Regions from separate parts of the Homo sapiens genome. Here region 2 is linked to region 1. The links are contacts of gene promoters, found by promoter capture Hi-C in human tissues and cell types (Jung and others, 2019). All regions are on one chromosome and are shown on one strand. Each heading gives the region's core, a stretch centred on a gene start or on the middle of the fragment in contact. The rest is flanking DNA. Distances are from core to core; before and after follow the strand shown. Region 1 holds the start of RPL27 (ribosomal protein L27). Region 2 holds the start of EZH1 (enhancer of zeste 1 polycomb repressive complex 2 subunit).

Region 1 (2,700 bases), core at 45-2,544:
TTTAAAAGTAGCAACAGTTAACATTTAAGAAGTACTTGCTATATGCCAAGCACTGCTCACAGGACTTGGTATCTATTCACTTGCTCCACTGCTAGTGAAGTGTACAGCCAAGGTTAAGACACCACAGCCTAACTCCAGAGATCAGTCTCAGGAGATGGGAGAGGGGAATCCAGGGGTACTCCAGTGTCCCCACAACAACAAAACGCAGTGGTGTATGTGGCCAGAGCCTAGGGAACTCTCTCAAGAAGCTACAAAATCATGGATAAGAGGAAAACAGTGAGGGGCTATGTGACCTTTCTAAAAGCAATTTCCTCCTCTTCTTACAGATTCCCAGCTGCAGCACTTCAGGTAAATAACAGAACACCTCCAAACCTTAGCAACAGGAAGGAACCCCCTATAGCTGGGGATGGTGGCACGCACCTGTAGTCCCAGCCACTCGAGAGGCTGAGATGGGAGACTCGCTTGAGCCCGGGAGGTCGAGGCTGCAGTGATCACGCCACTGCACTTAGCCTGGACAGAGATCCCGTCTCAAAAAAAAAAAAAAGAAAAGAAAAGAAAAGGAATCCCCTATGATTACTTCAAGGACTGCACATGACAATACCTGAAAGGCAGTGGGAGCACATAGCAAGCGTGCAATGTCAGCCACTATTACTATATATTTAAAGCCTCTGGTGGAGAAGGCTTTATGCGTTGGGAGCCCAATTCAGCTCACATTTGCTTTTACTGTGCTTCTTCCTCTCTCAAAAACTCTCCCACGTTCACCCTGACCGTGCTCACTGGCTACTGCCCCAGAAACAGGCCTTGAATTCCAAGCCTGCCCGCCCCGCCGCAGCCAGCCTGGTCCCGGCATGCAAGGACGCAGAGTCCCGCGAGGCTGATACCTTCACGATGACAGCTTTGCGTCCGGAGTAGCGTCCAGCCAGGACAAGCACCACCTTCCCAGGTTTCATGAACTTGCCCATTTCTGCAGAGAGCAAGGAGAAAGGGCCACTTAAAAATCCGTAAAGCCAAAGATGCCCAGAGCTGACTCCTGCCAGCAAGCCCAGGTCTTGGGCCGGAACTTCAGACTGTGTTCACTGTCGCCTTGGTCAAGGCCGCCCGAGGGCCCTGCTCGCAGGACAGGATCGGATACGTAGCCGCCAGAGACCTAGGGAAGGAATGCACCCGGCGCCGCCCGGACCTTCGACCCCCAAGCCGCGGATGGCAGCGGATTGAAAGATTCAACCCAAGCTTCTACTTACCGGCAGCAACCACCCGGCCCTACCAGCAAAAAGGAAAGAAGGACACTTCCGCTAACCTTTCACCCCGGTGAGGAGTGACCTCACTTCCTGTCCCGCCCTTCAGGCTTTGCCACGCTGATTGTGTGGTGCTGAGTCTCGTGTTGCGGGCGGAAGAAGCTCATGAGGGAAACGCAGGGCGCGGCAGCTCAAGTATTCGAATGAAACTTTATTAGCAGCTCCAGCAGTAGACAAGAGCAAAGGAGACTCCTCCCGGCCGACGGAAGAGCTGGGAGGGCGACTGTGCTGTGCGCTCTGGACTCAGCAGCTAGGCTTTGTTGTAGTTCCTTTCTCTGGCGCTAGGAGGGGGAACACAATCTGAAATTTACTTTTTCTCTTGGGAGACACAGGGAAAAAAATAGGGCATTTATTGGTGCCTGTCGGGGGCACTGTTAGCTAAAGAGGGAGGGACAAAGATCAGTAAGGGTGGCTGGTCCGATAGTAGTGGGTTATCAGAACTTATCAACGTTAGGGTCACTAAAGTTGGTATACAACCCCCCACTGCTAAATTTGGTTTTAAAAAAACAAACAAAAAGGATATTTACCCCCAACAGTTAAAGTCTAGTGGTGTCACTGACATTACCAACTAGAATAAGCATGAGGGAGGTAGAGGAGAAGAATGGCAGCTGCTTACCCTGTGCCAGGTCAGGTTAATCTATTTATGCACATCATCTGATTTGGTCATCATAACACTAAGAAATAGATACTATTATCTCCATTCTAGAGTCGAGGAAACTGGCTTAGAGAGATTTGCCCGAAGTCTATAGTGGTTAAATAGTGGAGCTGGGGCTCAGCCTCAAGCAGTTCAACTCCTGAACCCATACTGTTTACCATGTCACCATCCTGAGCAGCGATTCTCTCCCAGGCAAGATGTGAGCACTTTATACAAGCCGGCAGCCTGTTTAATCCTCACAACTCTGCATCTTGGGCATTCTCCTCCCATTTAGACATGAGGAAATTGCAATTCAGAGAGGATAAATTGCTTGTCTGAGGTTAATCCTAATCAGTGGCATAGATGGGATTCAAATCTAGGTCTGAATCTAGGTCTAGTTGGCTCTCAAACTGAATTATTTCCCATCACTCACCAGAAGAGTGTTTTCACATGGTACCTTATGTGCTTTCCGAGTTTAAGGGAAAGATAAACTATCTCACAGTTTTTGCTTATCTGAACCTATAGGATTTGTCTTGGGCAAGATGTGGAACAACCAGGATTTCATCAGTTCTCTCCTGAAGCTCTCCAGTGATACAATTTTCCCTGTATCCCTCAGGATCCCATTGCAATGGCTTTTGTTTTGTTTTTTGAGACAGGGTCTCGCTCTGTCACCCAGGCTGAATGGTGTGTAGCACAATCATGGCTCACTGTAGCCTCAACCTCCTGGGCTCGTGATCCCCCCACCTCAGCCTCCTGAGTAGCTAGGACTTC
Region 2 (2,700 bases), core at 193-2,692, 250 kb after region 1:
AGGCTGGGCATTGTGGCTCATGCCTGTAATCCCAGCACTGGGAGGCAGAGGTGGGGGGATCACCTGAGTCAGCAGTTCGAGACCAGCCTGGACAACATGGTGAAACCCCATCTCTACTAAAATTACAAAATTTGCCGGGTATAGTAGTGCATGCCTGTAAACCCAGCTACTTGGGAGGCTGAGGCAGGAGAATCGCTTGAACCCAGGAGGCAGAGATTGCAGTGAGCCGAGATTGCACCATTGCACTCCAGCCTAGGCAACAAGAGTGAAACTGTCTCAAAACAAACAAACAAACAACACGCACAAAAAATCAGCTTATGCGTGTTCGTCAAGAATACCACAGAAGTGATTTTGTGCGCTTCTCATTGCATCATGTTCAGAGGGACCTGGTAAGAATACCTCTCAGCTGGGGGCAATGGCTCATGCCTGTAATCCCAACACTTTGGGAAATCAAGGTGGGAGGATGGCTTGAACCCTGGAGTTCAAGACCAGCCTAGGCAACACAGCAAGACCCTGTCTCCTTAAAAAGAAGAGGGAGGCCGGGCGTGGTGGCTCATGCCGGTAATCTCAGCACTTTGGGAGGCCGAGGTAGGCAGATCACTTGAGGTCAGGAGTTTGACAGCAGCCTGGCCAATACGGTGAAACCCCATCTCTACTAAAAATACAAAAATTAGCCGGGCGTGGTGGCACGAACCTGTATTCCTGGCTACTTGGGAGGCTGAGGCGGGAGAATTGCTTGAGCCCGGGAGGGAGAGGTTGCAGTGAGCCGAGATCGCGCCACGGCACTCCAGCCTGTGTAAGTAACAAAGCGAGACTCCGTCCAGCCTCGCCCCCCGGCAAAAAAAGAAGAAGAAAACAATACCTCTTATCACTAGTGATGCTAACTTTGATCACTTAGTTAAGGTGGTGTCTGACAGATTCTTATCTGTAAAGTTGCTATTTTTTTCCCTTTGTAACTAGCAGGTGTCTTGTGGGGATTTATTTCGATACAAGGCTATAATTTTGATTCTAAGTGACTAGAAAACTATGAACAGAAATAGGGAGATCAGACATAAATAAAGGGCTTAGAACCCATAGACCGGTGTCTGGAGAACTGGTAGGGGTGAAGCATCGGTATGAAGGTGATCTGGGTTGGCTTCAAACGCTGAAGTGAGATGTGGCTTGTCACCAGCGCGTGGGGATGGCAAATCCGCTGAATAGGGTCTTCAGGAAGATATTAGTGGCTCTGCGAAGGTTTCCCCAGAGCCCTTCCCCTCCCCTGCCAGCGCCGCTTTGGAAGCCGTCTGGGAGGCTGCACCCGCCAGGACTCCTGAGTGCGGGGTTTTGGCGGCAAATGACAGTAGTGCGTCCGCGCGGCACGGGTAAGTCAATGCGCACGCGCCGACAGGAGGCGCGGGGCGGGGCACGGCGCAGGGGTGGGGCCGCGGCGCGCATGCGTCCTAGCAGCGGGACCCGCGGCTCGGGATGGAGGGTGAGTGAGTAAACAAGCCTGGGCCGGGCGGTGGGGCCGGGCCTCCTCCCCTCGCCGCCCTGGGCCTGAGGGAGGGAGAGGCGGAGGGATCAGGAAATTGGAAGGAATCCGAGGGACACACTGCCTGCCTGGCCGGGGGTAGCAGGCGCCCCTCCTCATTCCGAGGGTGGGGGAATGGGGGCGACGGGGCGAGAGAGACCCAGGCGAGGACAGCGTCTGGGGCTGCGAGGGCTGTGTGCCCGGGAGGAGGAGCGGCGGGGGCGGGCTCGGGGACGGGGAATCCCGTTGGATGGCGGTGTGGGCCGGTGGGCGGGAGCCCCAGCGCCCAAAGGGCGCGGGAGGGCGGTGGCACCTGCGGGGGCCTTTAGCGAGGTGGACTCTGGGGACCTGGAGCTGTGCTTGGGGAGGGCTAGAGACCGGGGCTGATCTTGCGATGGCTTTCGGGGATGTTGAGGAGGGGTAGCAGTAAAAACAAGGCCGGGACTAGGGTGAGGTGAGTAAGGCTCCCAAGGCACAAAGTGTAAAGGAGCACTGACTCAGGGTCGCGCAAGTGCAGTGAGCGCCTCCTCACGTGCGTCCTGGGTGCCTCGGTCGCCTCACCCCAGGCCTGGCCCTGAGCAAGAATCTCCTTCACTCCAGACTTTTGGTCTCACGCCAATGATCGCTCACCCCCACCATTCAACCGAGGATCAAATGATATAAATAAAAGTGCCTTGAAGCACAGACAAGGTGTTGTATTTGGGACATGCCTGTTAGGAAATGTGGGACAAACTTTTATTTCAATAAAAAGTGACTACTGAGGAATTGTTTCTTGAGCAGGGAAGGGAAGGGATACCTGAAGGATGTTAGTGCCCCCCGTGGAATGTGAAGGAATATGGAGGGTGAAATACAGGGTTGTATGTGATGTAGCCCAGGCCGATAGGAACCTGACGCTTGGCAGGGGAGGATGAAAGCAAAGGAGCTCAGGTACACTAACAATTAGGTGGGTGCAAGGATGGCAATGAAAACGCGAGTCTCCTCCACGTTTGCTGCCATACTGCCGCTGAATAAAAAAATTCCCACACCCCATGTTTTTTAAATTTAGGAAACTGATATTGAAGGAGGTTTCCAGCCTGAGAAGGTGCTAACCCTATTAGAGGTTTCTGTGAAAGCTTGTCTATTTTAAGTCTTGGAATCCCCAGATATGCCACTGATAAAAGAGATTACTTACATAGGAGAGAGTGTGTGTT

What was found. The method cuts DNA at HindIII sites, captures the fragments that hold promoters and counts their contacts. A contact is called where the count stands out against the background at its distance.
Region 2: the fragment with the promoter of EZH1 here is called in contact with the fragment with the promoter of RPL27 in region 1 in 1 of the 25 tissues and cell types used here (hippocampus).

What each region holds. Positions count from the first base shown.
Region 1 is chr17:42,997,013-42,999,712 of GRCh38, reverse strand. RPL27 (ribosomal protein L27) reads right to left here and starts at 1,294. Exons shown (of 5, transcript NM_000988.5): 1 at 1,242-1,294; 2 at 882-964. The coding sequence starts at 962. It overlaps LOC124904006 (a long non-coding RNA gene), which reads left to right. Exons shown (of 2, transcript XR_007065759.1): 2 at 327-2,700. RefSeq lists enhancers at 833-942, 1,013-1,252, 1,263-1,572, 538-1,737. The HindIII fragment of the contact is 14,123 bases long and covers 1-2,700 here.
Region 2 is chr17:42,743,782-42,746,481 of GRCh38, reverse strand. EZH1 (enhancer of zeste 1 polycomb repressive complex 2 subunit) reads left to right here and starts at 1,442. Exons shown (of 21, transcript NM_001991.5): 1 at 1,442-1,471. RefSeq lists a silencer at 1,285-1,864. The HindIII fragment of the contact is 12,026 bases long and covers 1-2,700 here.